3 separate regions of the Homo sapiens genome follow, and regions 2 and 3 are each linked to region 1. Evidence: promoter capture Hi-C in 16 types of primary human blood cells and fetal thymus (Javierre and others, 2016). All regions are on one chromosome and are shown on one strand. Each heading gives the region's core, a stretch centred on a gene start or on the middle of the fragment in contact. The rest is flanking DNA. Distances are from core to core; before and after follow the strand shown.

Evidence for each region. Contacts are between HindIII fragments. The CHiCAGO score rates a contact against its expected background, and 5 or more counts as called.
Region 2: a contact is called between a fragment that was not itself captured here and the fragment with the promoter of BMAL1 in region 1, in 1 of 17 cell types (total CD8 T cells). The highest score is 5.4, in total CD8 T cells.
Region 3: a fragment that was not itself captured here is called in contact with the fragment with the promoter of BMAL1 in region 1 in 1 of 17 cell types (fetal thymus); the score reaches 7.2 in fetal thymus.

What each region holds. Positions count from the first base shown.
Region 1 is chr11:13,276,540-13,281,105 of GRCh38, reverse strand. It overlaps BMAL1 (basic helix-loop-helix ARNT like 1), which reads right to left and starts at 3,316. Exons shown (of 20, transcript NM_001297719.2): 1 at 3,183-3,316. RefSeq lists silencers at 2,306-2,645, 2,926-2,995, 3,066-3,715. The HindIII fragment of the contact is 3,232 bases long and covers 1,856-4,566 here.
Region 2 is chr11:10,803,196-10,806,611 of GRCh38, reverse strand. EIF4G2 (eukaryotic translation initiation factor 4 gamma 2) reads left to right here. Exons shown (of 22, transcript NM_001418.4): 4 at 565-705; 5 at 1,597-1,699; 6 at 2,194-2,325; 7 at 2,409-2,475; 8 at 2,562-2,713; 9 at 3,022-3,132; 10 at 3,318-3,401. Among named protein-coding and RNA genes, the nearest start is that of SNORD97, 3.3 kb to the right of the region's middle. The HindIII fragment of the contact is 1,059 bases long and covers 1,612-2,670 here.
Region 3 is chr11:10,853,272-10,857,837 of GRCh38, reverse strand. It overlaps ZBED5 (zinc finger BED-type containing 5), which reads left to right. Exons shown (of 3, transcript NM_001143667.2): 2 at 1,581-1,694; 3 at 2,752-4,566. The coding sequence starts at 2,893. Among named protein-coding and RNA genes, the nearest start is that of ZBED5, 2.5 kb to the left of the region's middle. RefSeq lists an enhancer at 1-119. The HindIII fragment of the contact is 2,687 bases long and covers 652-3,338 here.

The sequences.
Region 1 (4,566 bases), core at 2,067-4,566:
GAAAGGCTTCCTGTGTGCCAGGCCTTTTACATGCACCATCTCCCTTAATCCTCACACAGACTCCACGAGGCAGGCACTGCCATTACACCAAGAGGAGAAACCTGAGGTCAGAGGAGTCAAGCACACATCCAAGACCACAAAGCCCAAACCTGAGCCATGGATTCTTCTGCCACCAGAGCCCAGGCACTTGCCCATGGTGAGAGGCCAAGAAAAGGAACAGAGGAGAGGTCCACTTGCTTTCTCTGAATTGGGAGGAGATGAGGGGACGATGGGGATAGAGACAGGACATTTTGGGTGGGAAGTAAGAGATGCTGAGGGGGTTGAGTCAGAGCAGGTCTTATTTCATGAGAGGGAGAAGAAAAGACAAGGTGGGTATTTGGGATAAATCTGAGTCTTGTGATAAGGTGACAATGAAAAAAGACTGTGGAGAAGGATAACATGCCTGTGTCCCTAGCTCCCAACGAAACCTCAAGGTCTAGAAAGGATATTTTACTTCCCTGCAAGTACCTACTTTAGTTATCATGATGCTTCCTAAAATCACTGCATGTAATCACGGGGCTGAAACTGTTTATTTAATATTGATTTTCCTACCACAGTGAGAGTTGATGATGAAATCACAAAGAAAGCTCAGATACATTATAACCCTTACACCAAAGAGAGATATTAACTATCTAGTTTTTACCTTTTCATATGCAGTTTTGTTAATACAGCCAAATCTTTCTATGGTGCTTCTCCATCTTTTAGCATATAAATTCCACAGAGATTGTTGGTGTGAAGGGATAAATCTGAAAACATGGCCACTTCCTTTTCCTGCCCTGTGGCATGCAAACCTCTTCTGCAAATAGCAGACAAACTCGTAAGTAGTCATCATTTTATAAATCATTTGAAATGGATTCTTCAAAACACCATCTGTTGATCTGCTTAACTTTCTTATGAAAATAGGGCTTCAGCTCAGATATTCTGGAGGTGCCAGGAGGTAAATACCAACCTGAATTCAAATGTATTAAATATTTAGAGACTTACAGAACTTCAAAAGAGAGGAACCTTTGAGATCACCTAGTTCAACCGTCTTACTTTCCATCAGAGGCAAACACAACCTAGAAATCTTTAATAACTTGCCCCGACTGGAACGGCCATGAGAGCCCAAGCCTAAACTAGAACCAGGATGTCCAGCTCCTAACTCCCAGGTTAGTGCTTTTCTACCAGATCTGTTCGTTCTTCAGAGGGTTGAATAAAGAACAAATTTAACTACAGTTTTAACTTATTGTTATCATTCACTGGCTGCATCTACAATCAAAACCAAAATGCTTCTACAGAACCAGCTTCAGATGATACAGGCAATTTCAAATCCTGTCCAGGAAATTTCCAAACCTTCTAAATATGTTCTATAAGCTGCGTTAAAGACTTATCAGTAAAATGATCTGAGTAACAAAACATGGACTGAAAGACTGAATTTTGTATTTTCAAAAATATTTGGGAATTCCATTGATATGGAAATCAAATATAACACCAGCGAATTTTTTTAAGTCTTGCAAGCAGAGAGAGCATGATATTATTCAAAACTGCTCAGGAGCAGCAATGATTATTTTAAGCTCATGATTCAACGGGTACATTAATTAAAAACTCCACCAACCCAAATTCACAGATCCGGATATCAATGAGACCAGAAGAATTAAAATAATAGTTGTCATTTAATAATAGATTAAAGGGGTGAACAACAGCAGATGTCAGAAGGACAAATGACAAGCAAGCAGGTGTCGTGGGAAATGAATGCATCTAAGGGGCAGCTTTTATGGATGTTTAATAAAACGACGATGCTGGAAATACGGGTATACGGGTAGTGTCAAGAAAAGCTTGTTCACAAATACGGAATCTGATTTTTGGAAGCTGGGTGAGAAAACTTGGCTAATAATTCCTCGCTGAGGAGTAGCGGTGGAAGAAGGAAGAGACCGCAAGCGCCAAAGCGCCAAAACAACGCTAGGTGACCGGGAAGGGGCCGAGGCGGAGAGGGGAGAGGGGTCAGGAGGTGCGGGGTGCGCGGCGGCAGCGGGTCTCTCACCGGCCGGCGAGAACTTGACAGCAGGCGCCGGTGTCCAGCACTCCCCTTCCCTCCCCAGCTCCTGCCGGCGGGCACCTGAGCTCACCCCGCTGCCGGCTCTCGCGACCCCTCGGGGAGGCTAACATGCGCCCCACAAGGTCGACGTTCACCTCTACCTTCCTCGTCTTCTTCCAAGCAAACGGGAAGCTCTCTGGGATGTCAACGCCCGGCAATAGCCGAGCGGGAACCTTTTCTTCCCTGACATCTGTCAAACCCGGAGCTGGAGCCAGGCTCGCTGCGCCCTCCGCGGAGCTCTGGGACTCCAAGGCCGGCCCGCACCCGGGCTCCGGGCGACATCCCCAGGCCGACGCGCACCTGCCCGCAGACCCACGGGGCATCCTTGAGGGCCGCCCAGGACCTGGACGGCACAGGCCCCACGAAAGTTCGCAGGCTGGGGTCGGCCCCGTGCCGGCCGGGGATTCCCGGGTGCAGCGCCAGCCCTGGCTACAGGGCCGAAGGGGCGGGCGGACTTGGACTCCCCAAGCCCGACGGAGACGCCCTCCCCGCCCCCACCCAGCCTCGCGGGCTCCCGAAAGGGAAGTGAAGCGGGGAGGAAGGGCAGACGCGGCACCGTTCGCCCAACGCCCTTGAGGGGCAGCCACCAGGCATGGTCCCCTCGGGGATCCCCGAAGCTCCCGGGGACACATCTAGGAGTCCTCTTCGGCCGAGTCACTGCCCCCAAGGGCAGAGCTATCCCTTTAAGAGGCAGCTAGCTGCCCCCTCCCCCCGCCAGGTAGCGATGCCCGCGGAAGGGCGGTGGGTACTCCAGCGAACACTTTCCCGGCCCCTTTAAGGGCTCCTGCAGCACCTCTGCCTGCCCTAGCCCGCAGCGGCAGCCCCCGCGAGGAGGATGGGGGCGGACGGGCGCGGCGCCTTTAAGGGGCGCAGCCTCCCCACGGCCCGGGTGGGGGCAGGGAGCGGTCACGGGCCCTTTAAGGCCGGCAGCGGGCACGTCGGGCAGGGTTCTTCGGCGGCCGGGTTGCCCCCGGGGCGGCGGCAGGGGCGCAGCGCCCGCGAGGGTGCTAACGGCCCCCGACGGGGTGCGCGGGATCGCGTCGCTGGCCGCCGCCGGCCTGACACTCACCGTGGCTCGCCGGGAGCGCCCGCGCCCGCGCCCGCACTCGGATCCCGCGGCGGCGGCGGCGGTGAGTCCGGCGCGGGTAAACAGGCACCTCCGTCCCTGACCTACTTTCTGCCTTCCCTAAATGTCGCACCACTAACCTACTTTCCGACCAATCCGCTCCCCGCCGGCCCAGGCCCGGCCCCCCGCCCACCAATCGCTGTGCCCAACCCCCCTTCCCCGCCCACCAATGGAGGAGCCGCAGCGCCCGGATACCTGCCTCTTCCCGCCAGCCAATCCGAACGCCCGAAGGGAGCCGGTCCCGGCGGCCGCCCCCAGCCAATCCGCGCGCGGCTCGGCAGCCCGCTGGCCAGTTGTGTGGCGGCTAGAGAGGCCGCTGACCAATGGCGAGGCGGCGGGAGCCGGTTTACCTGCTACTTTCCTGCCACCAATCATTTGGCGCACAGGAGCGCACGCCCCGAGGAGAGGACCAATCCGCGCGCGCTCCCTGGGTTCCTCGCCCCTGCCCTCTCCCTTTCCCCTCAGGTCTCCCACTAGCCGCGGCCACTGCGGTGCCCAAGCCGCGCTCCTCGGGGTCGCCCGGGATGTCCCTCTTCTCTGGGTCCCCTGCCGGCTGGCGTTTGGCCGCCCGCCCTCACCCCTCCTCCTTCTTCTTCTCCCCTCCGGGCATTCCGACGAAAAGCAGCAGTTCCTGACTCCCTCTCTCCCTCCGGCTCCATCTAGGAAACCAATTTTAGGAACGTTGAGTGCCAGACCCTTCCTAAAATCCCTGGTTTGCCAAAGTCTCAACGAGAGAACGGATACTTAGTATTTCTAGAAGGCATTTCCACCCCGAGGACTGCAAGTGTTCTCACGTTCTTTGCGTTCATCATGACCTCCAAGTGTCCCACTGGAGCTGTCATTCCCGTAGTTCCAAAGAGAATACTCGAGCGCGGAGCGATTCCATTGCATTTCCTTCCAGTAGCCAGGTTTTGACCACTTACTGAAGAGTAGACACCAGCCCCGCGGCAGCGCTCTCTGCTGCAAAAAGCTGTCTACGGAGCAAGACGGAAGGAAACAGTTACAGAAAATAAAAATTTGATAACGACATGCGACTCGGTTGCTGAGAGGACAGAGAAAGTGACTTATTTTTGCATCTCAGGCACTTTGTAGAGGGCCTTTAGCACAAAGAACTCCCGGCTCTTCCAGATGTTAAACTCCCTGAATAGAAGGACAGCGTCTTCTTTTTCGTTATCCATCATGTCAGCTCTCCTTTAGCGCCTGCTGGGGTAGGGTGGAGTGGTGGGGGCGGGGCTGGCACCCAACAAGTGCACCATAAATATCTGTTGGCTGGATACATGAACAAATGGAATTAAATAAATTGGCCTAATTCTGTTACCCAGACTGG
Region 2 (3,416 bases), core at 892-3,391, 2.5 Mb after region 1:
TTTCCTTATTCTTTGGGTTATTTTTACTAATGTGTTTTTCTGAAATCAGTAGCTATTATTCCTACTGATTGTTATTAGTAAAGTAGTACGCACTCAACATGGTCAATAAAACATTAGAAAGTGTTTATTGGCAGCCGGTACAGTGGCTCACACCTGTAATCCCAACAACAACTTTGGGAGGCAAAGGTGGGAGGGTCGCTTGAACCCAAGAGTTTGAGATCAGCCTGGGCAAGACAGCAAGACCCCATCTCTTAAAAAAAATGTTAATTTTCAAAATGTGGTTCCACAGCGTTGATACTGGGAATATTTACTAGACATGCAAATTCTTAGGCCCCACCCCAAACCAGTGAAAGCAGAAACTGGGTGGGCCCAGCAATCTGTATTAACAAGCCCTTCAGGTGATTCTGATGCACACTACTGTTCCAGAAGCACTAATTTCCAGAGTTGGCTTTCTTGGAGGGGAAGTCGAGAAAGCCTAAATTACTTTTTTCTATGTAAGAGAATTTATGATGTTTAACATTTGGTGTGTGACAATAAGTGTTTTTGCTGATTTTTATTAATCAGCGAGTTCCTGGGGAAAACCCCAGGGCAAAACGCTCAGAAATGGATTCCTGCACGAAGCACTAGACGAGATGACAACTCCGCAGCAAACAACTCCGCAAACGAAAAAGAACGACATGATGCAATCTTCAGGAAAGTAAGAGGGTAAGTTTCAAGGTCTGTTTTACTAAAAGATGGGAAGTGTGGATTAGCTGTGTTTGGTGTGTGTGCTGTATTACTAAGAAGGCAAGGTTCATGCCCAGAGTATGTATGTTTTAATGAATCCTCATGGTAGCAATTTTTAAAAATATCTTGAACTGGCCAGGCACTGTGGCTCACGCCTGTAATCCCAGCACTTTGGGAGGCCGAGGTGGGCAGATCACTTGAGGTCAGGAGTTTGAGACCAGCCTGGCCAACATGTTGAAACCCCATCTCTACTAAAAATACAAAAATTAGCCGGACGTAGTGGCAGGCGCCTGTAGTCCCAGCTACTAGAGAGGCTGAGGCAGGAGAATCACTTGAATACCCCACAGGTGGAGGTTGCAGTGAGCCGAGATCACGCCACTGCACTCCAGCCTGGGTGCAGAGCAAGACTGTGTCTCAAAAAAAAAAAATGTATCTTGAACTGAAGAACAGCACGTCATATTTTGGGGCTTCCCGTTGCTTTCAGCCATTGGATTGCAATCCATAATCCTGTCATGCTAGCATTTCCCTTGACTAAGGGAAGTGCTATGTTATTTAAGCCAGTGAGGCAGGGAATATAATGGTCTTAGTTCATGGTCTAGCCTTGATAATGAGATCTTTGCGCTCTAACCTTGAGAAAGTGAGAAAGGATTCTTGTCAAACAGCTGGGGACCCCCCAGTCCAATTCAAATCATTGTAATTAAAATAACAGGTTTATTTCAGCATCCCTTTGGTTTTAGATGAGTAAGAAAACATGTCTTGATTTTTTAAAGGGAGCAAGTTAGAAGAAAAATCAGTATAATTTAAAAGCAGTTTTTCAATTCAAATTCTGTGTATTAGCTAACACTTAAAATGTAATTCCTTTTTCTCCAGCATACTAAATAAGCTTACTCCTGAAAAGTTTGACAAGCTATGCCTTGAGCTCCTCAATGTGGGTGTAGAGTCTAAACTCATCCTTAAAGGGGTCATACTGCTGGTAAGTTTTAAATATTGGCTTAACTCAAAAGGGAGAGGGAACTGTTTAACAAACTCAAGTTGTGTTTTTTTACACTTGGATTACTACTTAAAACCCTTAGGTGTGAGTTAGATAGGTATGTATTTTTGAATACTGATGGTGATTAAAAAGAACCACTGACTTTAGTAGCATTAGATTGAAGAGGTAAATGTTAAGTTCATGGTATGGTTGAAGAGGTAAATGGGAGTGCTTAGCAAGCTGTTCTTTTTCTTTTGTGGAAAACACCGTATTTAGGTCTTGGAAATGCATTGTATGACAGTTTATGTAGACTTGAAAGTTTTGATATCCATGGCATTTTCTGACTCCCAGGAGATGGATGTGACTAGATGAAATCTGTATAACTGGACATTTTTGGTAGACTGTAATAGCTAACATTTAGGTGGTTGTATTTTTCCTAAAGGAAGGGTTCTTGGAGAAGTTTTCATATTTAGTTTAAGCAATGACATTTTCTGTAGATTGTGGACAAAGCCCTAGAAGAGCCAAAGTATAGCTCACTGTATGCTCAGCTATGTCTGCGATTGGCAGAAGATGCACCAAACTTTGATGGCCCAGCAGCAGAGGGTCAACCAGGACAGAAGCAAAGCACCGTAAGTGGTAGTTTTTGTTTGCTTGTTTTAAAGTTGACTTGAAAAATTTCCTTAATAAAGCATGACAATGTCTTCTTTTCCAGACATTCAGACGCCTCCTAATTTCCAAATTACAAGATGAATTTGAAAACCGAACTAGAAATGTTGATGGTAAGACTTATAGCTGATAATAAGTACTACTGTATATTTTCAGCTTAATTCTGAATGTTGGCTTACTTCATTGGTATCTTTTTCAGTCTATGATAAGCGTGAAAATCCCCTCCTCCCCGAGGAGGAGGAACAGAGAGCCATTGCTAAGATCAAGATGTTGGGAAACATCAAATTCATTGGAGAGCTTGGCAAGCTTGATCTTATTCACGAATCTATCCTTCATAAGTGCATCAAAACAGTAAGTGTGACAGGGAAGTTAGGCGAATGTAGTCAGTCGTTTGGAGGAAATGAGTCAATTATTCATCTAAGAGGGAGGTTGACTAGTTAAATACAGATGTGCAACAAAATTTACTAAACAGAATAATTTGAAATACGTGGTGTGTTTGACAAAGTAGAGTTAGAACTGATCAACCAGACTGGTAGAAAGCCCTATACTAGATTCTGTAGGAACTGTGAATGAGTCAGTGCAAACATAAAGGGAAAGAAAGTACTACGCCTAAACCAGAGTAACTAAAACTTTGTCACCATGGCCTTTTATTCTTGTAGCTTTTGGAAAAGAAGAAGAGAGTCCAACTCAAAGATATGGGAGAGGATTTGGAGTGCCTCTGTCAGATAATGAGGACAGTGGGACCTAGATTAGACCATGAACGAGCCAAGGTACGTGTGTAGCTGATGAAAGTAGTACAAGTAGTTTGTCTTTAAATCAAGCTATTGATTTTTGTGACATCATAAGGGATTGCCATATTTAGCCATTAACTGGGTTATAATTTTAGAAGTCTTAAAGCTGTAAATTGAACACATTTGCTTTAGCTCTTCCAATGAATGTATTCTTCTCTTATCAGTCCTTAATGGATCAGTACTTTGCCCGAATGTGCTCCTTGATGTTAAGTAAGGAATTGCCAGCAAGGATTCGTTTCCTGCTGCAGGTAATACTGGTTTCT
Region 3 (4,566 bases), core at 746-3,245, 2.4 Mb after region 1:
GCTAAGCGGTGCGCTCTGAAATGGCCGCTTCCTGGAACTGCCTAAGATGGCGGTCGCGGGCTCTGCTGTGGACCGCGGCGCTGCTGTGCAGCCCAGCCGCGGCAAAATCCGTTCTCTCCATCGCTGATGGAGATGAAATAGAGAGATGGTGTTGGGTGCTGAGACGTTTTCATGTGGTCGTTAGCGCAGGCGGCCGCCCGGGGACGCGAGAGAAGACCTGAGGCGAGGGTGGGCTGCGACTGGTAGGGAGCCCCCCAGTCGTGGCAATCTGTGGGCAGCGCGCACCTGTGACAGGGAGGAGCTGAGGGATAGTTGGCCCTGGCTGCACATCCAGGTGACCGTTTAAAAAAGCATTTAGGTGTTGGAAGGAGCATCTGTTCCCACCTTTTTGGCTGGCCTGCACTCAGATCCTGTCCTCCTGACCCTGAGGGTATTGTTCCCAGCCGGAACCGCCCGAAGATAGGGGAGAAAGGATTGTGATACTTGTCAGTTTAACCGGAAGGAGACTAAAGACGGAAGTTTTCCCCGCTCTTCAGGGAGTGGAAAGGAAACTTTACTCTCAAAGGAGTCCAGATTCTTTGTCCTCGAGAAATTCGGGGAAACACCTTCGAAGAGGTGGGGTTGAGGACCTTCTTTCTGAAAACAAAAGCTTCCTACTCTTCTGTGTCCTCTGGCAACGAGAGGGATCCTGATCTTTTACGTGAACCAGCAGCTCCACAGAGTTCTCCGTTGCAAAATCCAAAAGGAGACTGTGGAAGGAGAATCTGCTTTTTTGCTCCCAATAAGAAGCAGGGCTTTATGCTGTTGCTAGTATGAGACCCTCGACTTTCTGGCAGTTATAATCCATTGTTCATCCGTTTCGCTGCATAACCCAACTCCTAGTAACGAGATTTTTTAGTAGTTGGGGAATTAAAAGTATTCAGGAACACCCAAGTAATGGCTAGACACATGGGCTATGCAGTCAAACTTTTTGGGCTCTGAACTTGGTTTTTCACTTACAAGAGGTGTTAGCGAGATGTGTTAACCTGTGTCTGTTTATCTCTAAAGTGGGGTTATTAATAATCCTTGTGTCTTCATAGATGAGATAATCTATATGAGGGATTTAGCAGTAATTGGCATACAGTAAACAATCATCAGTCATTAGACATTGTTTACCTGAGGAGATTGGTCACTGGGGGGCTAAAAATGATTGTAGTGAAAGAACTGCTTCATGTAATAGTTCTATGTATAATTCCATTTTAGATTCAAGACCTAGTTTTAGAGACATTGATGAGGTTGTACTTTTAAAAATTAGGCTTAGTTTCAAGTTCTAGAAAGTGTGGTGGTGGTGTTGTTTTAACATGTTTCTATGAAGTCAGTAGGTGGGGGAACATCTCAAAGCATCTAAATTGCCAAGATATTGAACAGGATGAAAATGTTAGAATTTTTACTATGCTAGGCGTCTTCTCTTTCAGTCCAAGATCTGCATTGCAGTAAAGAATCATTTTCACTGCTTAGATCCAGAAAGAATAAACCCATCTTACGGGTTTATAGTTAGTTCTGCTTGTTACTGTATCTAATTTTAATTTTTCTCATTCTAGGCTTTTGGTTACTCCCCTTCCCACCCCATCCCTTAATTTTATTCTTTTGAAGAGTGCATTTCAAGCTGCCAAGGTGGAGAGAGGGATTACAGAAAGGAGAACACCTTATTTCAGGTATCTTATCCTCTACCCCTTAATAGGAGAACCATTTTGACTCAAGATCTAACATGAGAATACAAAACTTACTCTATAGCCAGGTTATAAAGTTTAAATCAAAAGTAGCTATATTTGGACAGACATAATTTGTATGCCTTGATTTATAGAGTTAATAGTATTCTTTAGCAATCCTTAGATTGCATTATCCTTTTAATTTTGATTTGTTTTATTATATGAGAAATAAACCTCTTAAATGAGAGTTTATTTTTTTTTTTTAGGTCCTGGTTAAGTCGTCACCTGTTGTATAAATAGAATGCAGAGTTATCTGTAAAAATATACATTACTTTCATTGAGTCTTAATTTGGATAATATAAACGTTTATATAATTTAAGTCCAGAGAAACAGTACCTAACTTTTGATATACAATTTATTCTTCATTGTTAACGCATAACATTTAGGATACAGTAGAATTATGTATCTCGCAAAACTTGGAACTGTGTGTGTGTTTAATTCACTTCTTCAGAATTGTTGCTAGCCCTGAAGGGACTTCAGATATATAATAGTATCAACAACTAATACATCTAATGACAGTAGGCATCAAAAGCTAAAAGAGATTTCACAATACTACATACCATGAGACAGGGCTGATAAATTATGGCCCATGCTGTCTGGTTTTGTACGTAAAGTTTTATTGGAACACACCTGTGTCCATTCTTTCATGTATTGTCTATGGCTGCTGTCATGTTACAACTACAGAGTTGAGTAGTTGCAACAGAGACTATATGGCCCTTGACCAAAAAAAGCCTGCCAACCCCTGCCATGGGACATATTCTTCAGGGTCCCTTTCTTAAAAATATGTATAACAACTCTTAATAATTTATTGGCTCAGTGATTCCCAAATTATGTTTTATAGAATATTAATATTCTCTAAGTTAATAAATGTTTTGAGAAAATGATTGATGCTAATATTGGTTTTTCTTTATGGTTGATTTTAATATGTTTATTTAAATATGAGATTAAGACTGCTAAACTCATTTCTATAGCTTTTATTTTTATGTGATAATCTACCTTTAAGAAAAGGTGTACCATACCTGAGAGCACCAGGAAGTCGCATGAGAGATCACCTGATACATGAACGTATGATGTTCCATCTGCGCATTGATGAATAGGCAGCATTTACAAATTAACTGATGTGTTGCTGTATATCATCTCTTTGATGATTGCTCCTCTTCTTTGTATCCTGTCTTATAATTTCAACACATTTGCGATACTCAATGTCTATTCTAAATTAACCATGTTTTGTACCACAAACTCATTGCCCATGGATCTGTTGCTGAAACAAGGAAGTCTTAAACAAGAAGTGGAATCTTTCTGTTATCAGATTGTGTCTGAATCAAATGATCAGAAGGTTGGAATATTACAAAGTGAAGATAAGCAGTTGCAACCTTCAGTTTCTAAAAAATCAGAAGGTGAGCTTTCCAGGGTCAAATTTATATCCAATTCCAACAAAATAACATTTAGTAAAAAACCAAAAAGAAGAAAATATGATGAAAGTTATTTGTCTTTTGGATTTACTTACTTCGGAAATAGAGATGCACCTCATGCTCAGTGTGTATTATGTAAGAAAATTTTATCAAATAGCTCTTTAGCCCCTAGTAAGCTTCGAAGACATTTGGAAACTAAACATGCTGCATATAAAGACAAAGACATAAGCTTTTTCAAGCAACATCTCGATTCACCTGAAAATAATAAACCCCCAACACCTAAAATTGTGAATACAGATAATGAAAGTGCTACAGAAGCATCATACAATGTAAGTTACCATATAGCGCTGAGTGGAGAGGCTCATACTATTGGAGAATTGCTTATCAAACCTTGTGCAAAAGATGTAGTGATGCGGATGTTTGATGAACAATATAGTAAAAAAATAGATGCAGTACAGCTATCAAACAGTACTGTTGCACGTCGAATTAAGGATCTAGCTGCTGACATTGAAGAAGAGCTTGTTTGTAGACTGAAAATTTGCGATGGGTTTTCACTGCAACTAGATGAATCAGCTGATGTTTCAGGACTTGCTGTGCTGCTTGTGTTTGTTCGTTATAGGTTTAATAAGTCTATTGAGGAAGACCTACTCCTGTGTGAATCTTTGCAAAGTAATGCTACCGGTGAAGAAATATTCAACTGTATCAACAGTTTTATGCAGAAACATGAAATTGAATGGGAAAAATGTGTTGATGTTTGTAGTGATGCTTCTAGGGCAGTGGATGGGAAAATTGCCGAAGCTGTCACCTTAATAAAATATGTGGCTCCCGAAAGCACCAGTAGTCACTGCCTATTATACAGACATGCACTGGCAGTTAAAATAATGCCTACATCTCTAAAAAATGTGCTAGACCAGGCAGTACAAATCATCAATTATATTAAAGCTCGACCACATCAATCCAGACTATTAAAAATTTTATGTGAGGAAATGGGTGCTCAGCACACAGCACTTCTTCTAAATACAGAGGTGAGGTGGCTTTCTCGAGGTAAAGTTCTTGTAAGACTTTTTGAACTTCGTCGTGAACTTTTGGTTTTCATGGATTCTGCTTTTCGACTATCTGATTGTTTAACAAATTCATCTTGGCTGCTAAGACTTGCATATCTTGCAGATATTTTTACTAAATTAAATGAAGTTAATTTGTCAATGCAAGGAAAAAATGTGACCGTTTTTACAGTATTTGATAAAATGTCGTCATTGTTAAGAAAATTGGAATTTTGGGCCTCATCTGTAGAAGAAGAAAACTTTGATTGTTTTCCTACACTCAGTGATTTTTTGACTGAAATTAATTCTACAGTTGATAAAGATATTTGCAGTGCCATTGTGCAGCACCTAAGGGGTTTGCGCGCT